Linked DNA regions of Homo sapiens: region 1 is linked to region 2. Evidence: promoter capture Hi-C in 16 types of primary human blood cells and fetal thymus (Javierre and others, 2016). All regions are on one chromosome and are shown on one strand. Each heading gives the region's core, a stretch centred on a gene start or on the middle of the fragment in contact. The rest is flanking DNA. Distances are from core to core; before and after follow the strand shown.

Region 1 (6,772 bases), core at 3,809-6,308, 230 kb before region 2:
CCCGTTTTCTTCTTGTAGTTTCAGATCTTTTAGGTCTACGATCCATTTTGAGTTGATTTTCATATATGGTGAGAGAGAGGGGTCTATTTCATTTTTCTGCATATGGATATCCAGTTTTCCCAGCACTATATTCATTTCCCAAGTTACCATTAACCAGCACCATTTATTTAAGAGATTGTCTTTTCCCCAACGTACGTTCTTGGTACCTTTCTCAAATACCAGTTGGCAGTAAATGCATGGATTTATTTCTGGGTTCTCTGTTCTATTTCCTTGGTTTATGTACCAACCTCCAAATTTGTCCTTCCTTCCCTCCTTCCCTCCCTCCCTCTGTCCTTTCCTTCCTTCCTCCCTCTCTCCCTCCCTCCATGTCTCCCTTGCCCCCTCTCTCCCTCCCCTCCCTCTCAACAGGGTCTTACTCTATTGCCCATGCTGGAGTGCAGTGGTGTGCTCTAGCTCACTGCATCACTGCAGCCTTCAACTCCTGGACTCAAGCGATCCTCCCACCTCAGTCTCCCAAGTAGCTGGGACTACTGGTACACACCACCATACCTGGCCACCTTTTAAAAATTTTTTGTAGCGATAGACCTCACCTATCTCTTGCTTTTTTCTTGGAATTGCATTGAATTGGAAGATTAATTTTGGGGGAAATGGCATCTTACTGGTTGAACTTCATATTCATGAACATAGAATCTCCATTGATTTAGGTCTTTTATTGTTTTTCAGTAATTTTCTTTTGTTTTCATAAAGGTCTTACATATCTTTAGTCAGATTTATCCTAGATACTTATTTTTATAGTTACCTAGAATGGGATATTTATAAGAAATTACATATTCTGATTAGCAAATTACATATTCTGATATGCATACTAGCATATTACTAGTAGAAGTAACAGAATACGTCAGCAAGTTTGCTGAATGTAAGATCAATAATCAAAAATCAATTGCATTCCTAATACTCTACACACCTCTACTAGTTTGTCTGTGGATTTCTGTCAGATATCTCACATTTTGGATTTATTAATTTCTGTTATGTTATTTAACTTATTCCTTTATTTCCAGTATTTTCTGTAAACTGAAAGCCCTAAAGGCATGCTTAAATTCAGATTAAACTTTTTTTTTTTTTTTTTTTTTTGTAGGTGGTGCTGTATTCTCTGGTAATACCACATTCAGTGCACACTTAGTGGGTTCAGGCACTGACCATGTGTTCCCCACTCACTGTGAAGTTTCCCATCAACTTTTTAGCTAAAAGGTTTCATCCATTGATCTTTGCCTAAATCAGTTACTTTGTTAGCAGTTGCAAAATAGCAACTTTATAATTCTGTCATTCCTGCCACTTTGCTAGAATTCCTCAGAATCTAGGAATATGCATCAAATTTTTAGCATGCATATTTGATTTTATAAAGATTTGTAATATTAATCAGAACTCCTACTCATGTCCTCAATGATACTAAGACATTAGAATTAATGGTCATCCAGGAGAATGGCGTGAACCCGGGAGATGGAGCTTGCAGTGAGCCGAGATAGTGCCTCTGCACTCCAGCCTGGGCGATAGAGCGAGACTCCATCTCAAAAAAAAAAAAAAAAAAAAGAATTAATGGCCATCAATTCTTCTCATGTACTATGTTGTTATTGCCTAGTATTTTACATTTATCTTAACAACTTCCTAAGTTAACTATTAATGTTGTTTTATGCAGTCATTGCTGATTTAGATTTACCAACATATTTTAGTCTTTGAGTCCCACCTTATTTTTGGTTACTGTTTTCTAACTCTAGAGTTGGGTGTCCTTTCTGCAAGAGTGAAATTTTATTTTACCCTTACTCTTAAAAATAGCTAAGGTGGGTATAGAATTCTAGATTGATATTTTTTCTCATTACTTCAAAGATATTACTTTATTCCATTGTCATCTGGCCCCTGATGTTGCAAAAAACATGATGTCAGTCTGCATTCATACTAGGTAATCTTTGGTTCTTTTAAGATTGTATCTTTGAATTTGGTATTGAGTTTCACTGGAGATGTCTGTGGATTTATTTTTATTTAACTTGCTGGGGATGTGTTGTGCTTCTTTAATTTGAGGAATGAAATTGAATTTCTGGAAAATTCTCATCTATTTTCATTTTGAAATTAGTTTTCTTATTTTCTCTCTTGTTCTAGATTCCTTATGAGATGTATGTGGGACTTTCTCATTCAGTCCTCCAATATTTAACCTTCCTATAATTTTTTCTACTTTTTTTATCTCTTTATGCTACAGAGAGATAAAAGGCTGGATGTTTGAGGCTCATGGCAGCCTCAAACGCTAATTCTTTTCTTAAGCTGTTTTTAACTTATTCATTGAATTTTAACTAATTTGCTATTTAGCAAGTCCATTGAGCTTTTGACTTCATATACTACATTTTCTTTGAAACCATTCTGTTAAGATCTTAAGTTCTTTTGGTGCTAATTCTCCTGTTTGTTGGATTTACGGAGTCTTCCTCCTCATATTGGTTCCATTTTGTCATTTGGGAGTGTGACTCTAGGTTTCCAGTGGCTGAGCCCTTTTTATTTGATCCTCAGGTACTTAATCACCTCTGCACGTGGTATAGCCTCTGGATCCTTGCCTAGCCACCTGTTGCCCTCCTTCTCTCATCTGAAGTCAGAGCATTTAAAATGCCCAGAAAGATTGTTCCACTAGAAGCAGAATGGGACCTGCTGTTGGCACTGGACAAACCCATGTCAACCCATTGCTTTCCCCTTGGAATCCTCTTAAGTCAAGTTAAATCTCAGGTTTATGTGGGCAACAGAGAAAGAAACCAGCTGTTAATAAAGCCAGCCTCTGTGGGTAGGTGGCATGGATGGAGACCCTGAAGTTTTAAATGACCCTTGGGTCCAGGCACGGTGACTCACGCCTGTAATCCCAGCACTTTGGGAGGCCAAGGTGGGCAGATCACTTGAAGTCAGGAGTTTGAGACCAGCCTGGGCAATATGGCGAAACCCCATCTCTATCAAAGATACAAAAAACTAGCTACTTTTATCACATTCATTAGCATTCCCAAGCCCAGGGGCAGACGGAGGAGGTACTACAGAGTGAGGGGGCGAAGGGCATGGTAAAGGGAGGGATGGAGGATGGGGCCATTCTTCAGCAGGCACTTATTCCTTATATCCCACCCATCTATTTCCTTGAACTTGTGCCCTCAAAATCAAGAGCAGTCGCTCCTGCCATCAATGAGCATTCTCTGATTAAAGAATATTTTTACTGAACAAGGGAATATGTTCACACAGTGAAATACAGAAATTCTCTACTGACAGGGAAAGCTGTCTAGCTTAATATGACACTGTGCTTCGTGGTACAGATAAAATTAATATGCTGGGGGAAAGGAGCAGATTAGAAGTTGAGTATGCAGCCTAGGCAGCATGGCAAAACCCTGTCTCTACAAAAAATGTTTAAAAATTAGCCAGGTATGGTGGCATGCGCCTATAGACCTTGCTACTTGGGAGACTGAGGTGGGAGGATCACCTGAGCCTGGGAGTTTGAGGCTGCAATGAGCCGAGATCATGCCACTGCACTCCAGCCTGGGTGACGGTGTGAGACCTTGTCTCAAAAAAAAAAAAAAAAAAAAAAAAAATGTTGAGTACGCATGGTTCCCCAAGCTTTCATTATCCCACAATTTATGCTGGACATAAAGAGACTACATGCAGAGAGGGACCTGCCCCATGGTGCTCTACATGTTTATAGGGAAGTTGGAGGGGGCAACAGTGATTATGCAATTTTATAAGAATGAAAGTCCCTGTTATAGTAAGTGGCCTTATTCAAAAAAGGGCTCTTCAAAGGTTCAGGGGCTAGACTCAGTATGTTAGTGCACTGCGCTGATATGGACCTTTTGAGCCATCTCTCCAACAAGCTACTAAAATGAGGGAGGAAACAAACCTCCATGCCATCCAAATTTGTCTTAACCCCTGACCCTTGGGGTTCTACAGCTGGGCTGGGCCAGGGGTGACATATTTAACAACATGAGAACTAGAAGAGTCGTAGAAGGACATTTGGGACTGTTGTTCATGCCTGTAATAGAAAAAGAGAGAGTGATTCACTTCCCCTTGGCCTCCATGCACTTCTAGGGTCAAGACATTTATACCAGATCAGTTGGGATCTGTCATCCTGTCTTAGGGATGACTCAAGTTGTCCTTTTTCTGGACCCACGAGTTGCCATTTTGTTATCATAAGTACATAGCAGGCAGAGGAAGGTGGCCATAGAACACCTGATACAGAGTATCCAAGTTTTAGTCTATCCACAGAGATCTGAACAAAATGAACCATTCATCTATTTATCCATTGAAGGGAGCTCGGGTAAGCAGAGGTGATTATCATCAGCTTGTGCAGCTTGTAAGTAGATGAAGGTGGACCAGCTGTCCCTGTGGAAGTCAGCATTGAAGGGTCTGGTATAGCTGGCAAATAATATAGTCTTTGCAGTTAAACCTGGCCTCCGGCCAGGTGCGGTGGCTCACGCCTGTAAGCCCAGCACTTTGGGAGGCCGAGGTGGGCAGATCACGAGGTCAGGAGATCAAAACCATCCTGGTGAACACGGTGTAACCCTGTCTCTACTAAAAAAAAAAAAAAATACAAAAAATTAGCTGGGTGTGATACGGGCGCCTGTAGTCCAGTTACTCAGGAGGCTGAGGCAGGAGAATGGCATGACCCCGGGAGGCGGACCTTGCAGTGAGCTGAGGTTGCACCACTACACTCCAGCCTGGGTGACAAAGCGAGACTCCGTCTCAAAAAAACAAACAAAAAACAATGGCCTCCATAATTGATCACTGGGCATCTCAATCCTTTATGGTGGTTCCATGCATATGGTGGATTTGAGCACAGGTTGATTGGTCTGTAGTGGAGGTGATGGCCACATATGTTTGACTTTTTCACTTTAAATGCTTTTCACTAGATGTGTTTGCTTCATATAACCATATAGATAGATACTGAGTTTGTAATTAAATAGTTACATGTCCCCAAGGTAGGGGCCATCCAATATTCGGTATGTCTTTTCTGGTCCAGTCCTGGTTGGCCCAAAGATCTGACCATACAGATGGGCCATTCGTGACAGCCCATGTGGCATGTTTAATCTTAGGGCAGTACTCTCTGTGGCCAGAAATCCCTTCTGGAGTTCAGCCCATTGCACAGAGTGCCCAAAGCTGTGGGCCATCACCCTTGCGCCATCACTAGATGGCTGTAGCATTCCAAAGGCCCTGCTTGCTCAGAGGTGGGTGGGCTCTTTCTTCAGTGATGCTTTCTTGTCAGGTGGCCTGTTTCATAGGTGGCATCTTCATAAAACCAGCAGTTTTTGTAAAACAGTAGGAAAGACACTATTTCTGTCTCCTGGGTGGGCCACCACCTGTTTGACCCACCCTGAAGATGGCTAAAGGCTGAGGAGCTGGGTTTGGCCCTTAATTGGAAGATCCATTTTCTTCTCGTGATGGGATGTTCTGGAGCTTGTCCCACCCATTTGTGAAACTTAGTTCAGAATTGCAGGATGAGAATGTCAAGTTGAAGACTGTTTTGCGTAGGCAGGGCTCAGTGATGCTGGCCGTTGTTTCTCAGCAGCAGGAAGAAGTCCTCAAGTTCAAAAGGTCAAAGTCTAGAAGAAGAACCAGAGAAGTCTGGTTTGCCAAAGGCTCTAATCAACTGTGCAGTTAGTCCCAGACCCCTGTAGTTCCTTGACCCAAAGGAAATAAAGGCTCTAGGGCAAGGCTTCTGTTACTGCTGTCTGGGCTGATTCTTAGGTTCTTTGTTGTTCAGGCTCTTGGGCAAATGTGGCCACATGTCTGATGACTTGGGGGATGGAAGCTGTAGGAATATTCTTAGGTTTGGGATGTACCATCCAGCGGCCAATTTTGCTGTAGGGCCACTTTTCTTCTTCTTCTTCTTTCTTTTTTCTTCTTTTCTCCTCCTCCTCCCCCTCCCCCTCCTCTCCTCCTCTCCTCCTTGTCCTTCTTCTATCTTCTTCTTCTTCTTCTTCCTCTTCCTCTTCCTCCTCCTCCTCCTTCTTCTTCTTTTGTAGTTGGTGGCTATTACAAAGTTTTCCTTATTTAATTGTGAAATATCTATTTGAGCTGTGACACAGCCCCCAAGATGACCACTTGAAAGGCAGAGCGCCTGGGTTTTGTCCTTGCTCAGGGCCCACCTGTCTTTCGTCAGTGGTGCTTGGGTGGCATGTAACGCCCTGAAAGCAGTCTTCTTTGTGCAGACATGATGGAAATGCCTGCCCATACACCAGCAGTTCACACTGTGCTGGGTTTGTCCAACCCACTGATGCCACATCACTGGGAAATTCAGGGCAATAAAAGTGTGCTATATGCTGTGCTCGTGAAAGCAAACTGACATTCCCCACAGGGAGATCTAAAATAATGCATTAGCAATACCCTAGGTTGCAAACCAAGTACCAGGTAGGATGGCAGCAAAACATTCATTCATTTTTATTATGTCAGCACAATTGAAACAAAAGATGGCCACACTCTTTTTGAAGCTTCCCTAATCCACAGTAGAGTTCCCAGCATCCATTCGACAGACAGGGATGTTCAGCTAAAGAAAGCTCTGTATAGGCTGGGCACGGTGGCTCCTTTGGGACGCTGAAGCAGGTGGGTCACCTGAGGTCGGTAGTTCAAGACCAGCCTGACCAACATGGAGAAACCCTGTCTCTAGTAAAAATACAAAAAAATTAGCCAGGTGTGGTGGCTCATGTCTGTAATCCCAGCTACTCGGGAGGCTGAGGCAGGAGAATCGTTTGAACCTGGGAGGCGGAGGTTGTGG
Region 2 (7,168 bases), core at 2,841-5,340:
GTGCCCAGTACACTGGGAGAAAACACACTCATATGAAGGCACATCATTGTGATATTTTAGATCTCTGGGAAAAAGAAGGTTCAACACATTTCCAGAAGTCAGGGGGTAGAGGGAGATAAATAATTGAAATAAAAATTTTTACAGCCAGGTGCAGTGGCCCATGCCTATAATCCCAGAACTTTGGGAGGCCGAGGTGGGCAGATCACTTGAGTTCAGGAGTTCGAGACCAGCCTGAGCAACATGGCGAAACCCTGTCTCTACAAAAAATACAAAAAAATCATCCACCAGGCATGGTGGCCCATGCCTGTGGTCACAGCTGGCTTGGGAGGCTGAGGTGGGAGGATCACTTGAGCCCAGGAGGGGTAGGTTGCACTGTGATCATACCACTACACTCCAGCCTGATGACAGAGTAAGACACTGTCTCAAACAAAACAAAACAAAATTAAATCAGAATAGCTAAAGGACAATAAAAGAATACATTTTAAATTCTGAAGAAAAACATTTTCAGTCTAACACTCTCTACCTAGTTGAACTAGGAATTGTGTATAGAATCAAGCTATTCTGAAAGGTGCAAATTTCCATTTCCACATGCATGCTTTCTTAGAAAACTACAAGAGGCTGTGTGTCCCCCCAGTGGGAGCAAAGCAAGACAGAGGACACTGGACATGGGAAGCAGAGGATCCAACCCAGGAAAGAAAGGAAGAGAATCTTCAGAGTGATGGTGCAGGAGAGCCCAGTCGGCCAGCTGTGTGCAGGCCACCAGGCCAGAGGCTCCCAGAGAGGCCAGTCATGAAGACGATTCTGACAGAATACCTGATGTCTCTCAGCTTCTTGATAGGAGACTTAAACAACTAGGGTTAAATTAGTGACTAAATATCTGGAGAAATTATGAAATGAGAAAAGAGAATTACTAACACCAGGGCAAACAAGAAATTGGGCAGGAAAGGAAAAGCATTCATAGTCTACGCACTGGGTCAGTTGTAAGTGGTATTTACAGTGTCATAGGTCAACACTGGCTGCTGATCTAACCCAAATCACCTGAAGACTATACAGATGCCCCTTGACTTAACAATGAGGTTACATCCTGATAAACCCATCCTAAGTGGAAAGTATCCGAAGTCAAAAATGCATTTAATACCCCTAGCCTACCAAACATCATAGCTAAGCCTAGCCTATCTTAAACGTGCTCAGAACACTTAGGTTAGCCTACAGCTGGCAGAATCACCCAGCAGCACAGCATGCTGGAGAGGATGGGTGGTTTGCGCTGGTGATGGCATGGGTGGCTGAGAGCTGACCAGCATCATGAAAAAATATCTACCGAATATCATTAGCCTGGGAAAAGACCAAAATTCAAAATTCGAAGTATGATTTCTACTGAATGCATACTGCTTTTACAACATCTGTAAAGCTGAAAATTCCTAAGTTGAACCATCAGAAGTGTTTGGACCTATATTGGGAGACAGGAAGAGGGTATGTATAATTGGAGGCAGGGAAGAGGGCATCCCAGCTAAAGCCTCATCTTTCAGAGTAGAAAGGCAATGGATAATGTCTATGACTGGGTGGGTGAGGGAACACCAATAAACAGCATTATAAACACGTTGTTTAGAGCTCAAAGAGATGAAGACACTGGGAGAAACTTATATTTCTGCCTGTAGGACCGAATCTTTAAAATATGTGCATAAGGTGGGGCACAGTGGTTCATGCCTACAATCCCAGCACCTTAGGAGGCCAAGGCAGGAGGATTGCTTGAGCCTAGGAGTTTCAGAGCAGCCTGGGCAACACAGAGAGACCCCGTCCCTAGAAAAAAATTAAAAATTATCCAAGTGTGTTGGTGCATGCCTGTGGTCTCAGCTACTTGGGAGGCTGAGATGGGAAGATCGCTTGAGCCCAAGAGGTCAAGGCGGCAGTGAACCATGATGGTGCCACCGCACCTCAGCCTGGGAGACAGAGCAAAACCCTGTCTCAAAACAAAACAAAACAAACAAAAAAGGTGCATAATTAGCTCTGTCAAAAATAAAAACTATAGTAGTAATAAGGGTGATTTTGCTTACATGTTTTCCCATCTTTTTCAAAACGCTTAATGAAATCTAAAAGGATACATGCTAACATGTCAACAGTGATTATTTCTAGTAATGGGATTGTGGGCCACTTACATTTCTTTCACTTTTGTATTTCCTGAAAAAGCGCAGTACACAGAGCATATCGATAATAAATCAGAAAAAAACCCAAAGGCGTTATACTTCATGCCTGGCCCAAATCCACCCCAAGGTAGAAGGCCCATCTCTGTCATTTTAGCTTTTGTTTGCGCTGCTGAAGCAGAGGAGCCTGCCAACTCCTTCATTTGCACAGCAAATATTTGTTGAACTCCTAAAAGCTAGGCCCTGCAAGGCGATTCCAATACCTTCAGCTTTTGAGTCTCCTGAAGTCCTCAATACTCGCTGAGGGAACCAGCTGGGAGAGGAGCTAAGCCAACACTTCTCATACCTTATGTGCATTATGACCACCAGGGGCTTCATAGAGCAGGTCCGGGTGGTATCTGAGACTGGGGGAGCAAGCAAGCTACTTGAGGTACACAAGATTTACTTCAGGTTTCTCAAAGGAACCGCCCAGGTCTTCAGTCACTTCTGCACCATGATGGTGTGCCCATTCTCTAACTCCCACATAGGCTCATTTTCAATTCCCAAATATTTAACAAAAGTCTGTGAGAGATGACAGAGGGGCACTGCTGGGGCAGCTGGAAGCTGTCTCAACTGCTTGCAGTTATGAGCACGGCCCTGCAGAAAGGCAGGCCTGGGTTTGAATCCATGCTTCACCATCCACCGGTGTGATTTACGTCCCCTCTCTAGGCCTTCACAGGGGAGGGTGGTCGTTGGATTACACGAGGGTATGAGGACATCTAAAGGGCTTGACAAGATCCTGGTACACGAAGAAGACTCAAACAGTGACCACCTCTAACTGCTGACAGGACTCCAGTCCTTTCTCAGCTATGAAGGACTGGCTGGGACTTCTGGGAAGATCACGTGAGTTTTCAGCCTCTATGCCCTCCAATGAAGAGAAGAACGCCCATGCCCTGCCTCCTTCCCAGGAATGTTCTGAGCCTAAACCAGGATGTGCACAGCACCATGCAAAAGACCTCTTTGGTCCTAAAATAGGTTATGGCACTCAGATTTTATTCAGTAAAATTTTCCTGACTCACCTCAATGTTACTACCAGGGAGATAATTAGGAAAAGAAAGAAGCCCTTTCCTCTTCCCCTGATCTTAGGAAGCTTTATTTTCAGGGAGGAGGCCATCCACGTGGAGATCAGGTGAGAAAGGCACCAGGTGTCTCTGACACTCAACACAAACTCAATAGCCACTAAGCCAAGCTTCCTGCTCCCAGGATCTGCCGCCGCCACCGAGAGGACCCAACAAGCTGAATTTCTCCCACAGCAAGACATCCTGAGGATCACAACCCTTTCTTCCCAGGACAGCCCGAGTTTCCTGGACCTTGTTTAGAGTCTTTCACTTTGGGAAGAAGGCGAGGCTGAGCAAAAACGGTTCCCTAAAGCCCGCGGGAAGATCTGAGCAGGCTCCATCCCGAGAAGCACGGCGGAAGCACGCGCCGGGGTCCAGCTGAGCCCCCCGCCACCCCCGGCCCGTCGGCACTCACGATCTCGGCCACGATGAGGAAGCCGGGCAGGGTGCGGAGGAACTCCCGGTCGTAGGCGAAGCTGCTGCTGCTGGTGGAGAAGTTCTCTGCGAAGGAGCTGGCGGTGGTGGTGACTGTGTGCGAGCGGGCGCGCTGCGGCTCCTCCATCGTCGAGCCACTGCCGGGCTGGCGCGTCCCCAGGGACCCCGGCGGGTCTGGGGCTGGACGCGCGGCCCTGCGCCCTGGGGACACAGGCGCGGGGGAGGGGAGCGCGGCCCGCGCGGGGCAGGAGGTGCGAGGGGGGCGCCCGCCGGGGGCTGTCCAGGCGCGGCGGGTGTCCCTCTAGTGCGCGGTGCCCCTAGCGCCTCGGTGCGCGGGCTCCCGAGCTGCGCTGGGGCCCTAGAGGAAGAGGAGAGCGAGCGAGGGGAGGCTGCCGGGCAGCCGGGGAAGGCGGTGGAGGCCCGGAGGAGGGGAGGGGGCGGGGAGAGGGGCGGGCGGGAGGCGGGCAGGAGAGGGACCGCCCCGCGGAGGCGCCGCGGACGCCCGCCCTCTTCACCTGTTGCCCGACTCCCAGCGGCGGAGAAGGCGCCGCGTCGCACCCAGGGTGGCTGGGTTGGCAGCCTGGCGGGCGGCGCGGAGGAGAGGGCGCAGGGGTCCTTCTGGCCGTCTTCCGCTCCCCCTCCCGGCCTTTACTTCTGTCAGGCCCCGCCTGGCCCAGGCCCGCAGCCTGTTTCCTTCCACCTGGGCGGGTCGGGGGCTGCGGGCATTGGGGCCCCTTAAGGAAACCCAGGCCTCCAGGGACTCCGCCGCTCCAGGACTCGGCGCGGAGGGAATGACTGAGCGACGACCGAGGCAGGGGGTGATGTGGTACCTCGAATGCTGTGGAAATGGCAGGAATGATGACCCGGCCGGACCTTAGACCCGAGATCGATGAGAGGCCGCCAGCACTGCCCGGGAGACGGCCCGCTCTTCTCCCCCTCCTGCTGCGGCCGCCGCCAGAGCCCGGTGTTATTTCCTGCCCCTCCTGTCGGGAACAATTTGAGGAACCAACTTAATCGCTTGGCTTTGAGGGCGCGACGCTTCCAGGCGCTCTCCGCGGCTCTGTCCCGCGGACCGGTGGAGCCTGGGTGACGGCGCCTGGGCCGGAGGAGGGGAGATGTTTGGGGTCCCTGGCCAGGATGAATCAGCGTAACCGTCCCGTCACCCTCGGGGAAAAAAAATGTTTCAAGAAGGCTTGAAGGGTGTGATTTGTGTAATGTTAACTTTAGGACAAATGAGCTGTGCTTTCCTGGCATGGGAAGGGGATGGGGGTCCTCATTTAGTGAGGCAGTTTGTAACAGGGTCAGGGAAGAACTGAGCTCGGCTGCGTGCGTTTATCGGCTGTATGACCCAGAGCGAGTGGCTCTAGTTTTTGGACCTCAGTAATGCCATCTCTAAAATGCAGGCTTTGACAGATGGACCTCTGAACAAAAAGATTATCTTCCGCTTGGTCCCTCCTTCTATTTTGTGAAAGGGTAGCAAGAAACATTTTATCTGGAAGCCACCAAAAGAAAAGGAAATAATCTTTGGCTATAAATCGAGGGTATCTTTGATTCACAGTGAAGGCATTTCTGCTGATCTGTTCCAAGACAGGTTAAAAACGAGATCAGAAGGGACATTTTCTTCACAGTGTCTTATCAAGTGTGCTGAGAAGAAAGCAAAAACGACAATCTAATAAAATAAAACAAGGAATTAGTGTCTTTTAAGTCTAGGGCCTAGCCAGGAAGACCTCCAGGAGTAAAAGTTAAGGCTTCAAAAGCATGGCAAAGATGTAGATTTGGAGAGATTCCATCCATGTGCATTTGGTAAGCACCTTGGGCTGGTGGGTAAATTCTTAAAATTTAAAATATAGCACTTCTCCCTGGAGCAGTAGTTCTCAAAGTGGTCCTTGGACCAACAGCAGGTAAGTTCCCTGGGAACTTATCAAAAATGCAAGGTCTCAAGCCCCACCCCCAGACCCTCTGAATCAGAAACTCTGAGGGTGGAGCCAGGAAGCTGTGTTTGAACAAGCCCTCCAAAAGACACTGATGCATGCTGAAGTTAGCTGCTGCTTTAGAGAAACTGTTAATGAGTTTGGGGAAATAAGAGATACATACATGAAATGGCTGGAGGAGACTCAAGCATTATGCATGACATTTAGTGAACGTAAAAGACGGAGTCTAGACAACTTTATTTCCATAATATTAACAAAGGACAATCCTCTCTTAAAATTCCTGGGGTCAGATGAATTTCTAAATTCAGATTTTGTTTTTCAATTTAGAAAGGTAAAATGTGCATGTACCATATATTACATAATACCTTTGGTAAGGTCTGGGGTGACACTCTAATATACTAATTTTCTGCAAGGGAAATCATGAATGACATAAGTGTATGCTTGGATTATCTACTGCAATGTAATAAATGTTCACAAAATATTAGTGGCTTAAAATCACCATTTTATTTGCTCAGAAATCTGTTGTGTCAGGAATTTGGGAAGGGCTTGGCTGGCAGGTTCTTCTGCTTTGCATGGTGTGATTGGAGTCATTTACTCAGCTGCTTTCAGTTGGTGACTTGGCAGGGCCAGAAAGTCCAAAAAGTCTTCATTCCCATTTGAGCATTTCAGTGCCCTTTCAACTTGGGCTTTCTAACAGTATGATAAGCTCATGGTGGTTGGACTTCTACCTGGCAGCTGGCTACTGGAAGAGACTTTCTAAGAGGGGCAAATGCAGAAGCAGATCTCTTAAGGCCCAGCCCTGAAGGTTACACGGACTCATTTCCACCACATTCTATTGGTCTAAGCCAATGAATGACAAGGCCAGCCAGAGTCACGCAGAGGGGAAACAGATACCACCTGTGGATGGGAGGAGCAGTAAAGAATTGTGGCTGTCTTTTAATCTAGGTGAGATAAAGACAAAGACAATAAATAGCTTCACATCTGTTTAGGTTATGTTTTTCTACCAAATATGTTTTCTGCAAGCTCAGGAAAAAAAATTTTGGTTTCAGCTTTTGGGATTTCAGAATCACAGAGAAAAAATTATACACTGGTTGCTTGAAAACTAGCTGCCCCTTTCCAACTGCTGCCTACATTTGGGTGATTATCTTCCACCTGAAACTCTACTGATTGGTGCCCATTCTTCCAATAACACCCTTATCCAGTCCACCTTCCGTCTTCCTGCAAGAATTATTGTCCTGAAACCCCAGACTAAGGTACCACTGTGCACAGCATAAGGGCCTATATAAGATATTCAGCCTATCTCTTCTGATCCCTTTTCTCAACCACTTTAGAATGCATACTGTTTCAGCCCCAGATACACTTTGTATATATCACTGTAAGTGTGACCACTTTATGCCCATAGCCAGCTTTTCTCTTAGCCTACAAAGCCTCCCACCTTCACACACAGCTCACAATCTGCAGTCTTCATGGCCCATTTTAAATGCCACCTTTTCTGTGGTTTCTTTGGATTTCCATGAGCTGTTGTTATTTTCTTTTTTGTTTTAGAATTCATTGACTTTATGCACTT

Evidence for each region. The method cuts DNA at HindIII sites, captures the fragments that hold promoters and counts their contacts. A CHiCAGO score of 5 or more calls a contact.
Region 1: a contact is called between a fragment that was not itself captured here and the fragment with the promoter of CMTM8 in region 2, in 1 of 17 cell types (non-activated CD4 T cells). The highest score is 6.7, in non-activated CD4 T cells.

What each region holds. Positions count from the first base shown.
Region 1 is chr3:32,470,229-32,477,000 of GRCh38, reverse strand. No RefSeq gene overlaps it. Among named protein-coding and RNA genes, the nearest start is that of CMTM6, 29 kb to the left of the region's middle. The HindIII fragment of the contact is 2,864 bases long and covers 3,627-6,490 here.
Region 2 is chr3:32,235,602-32,242,769 of GRCh38, reverse strand. CMTM8 (CKLF like MARVEL transmembrane domain containing 8) reads right to left here and starts at 4,090. Exons shown (of 4, transcript NM_178868.5): 1 at 3,651-4,090. The coding sequence starts at 3,797. RefSeq lists a silencer at 4,077-4,286. The HindIII fragment of the contact is 4,195 bases long and covers 3,369-7,168 here.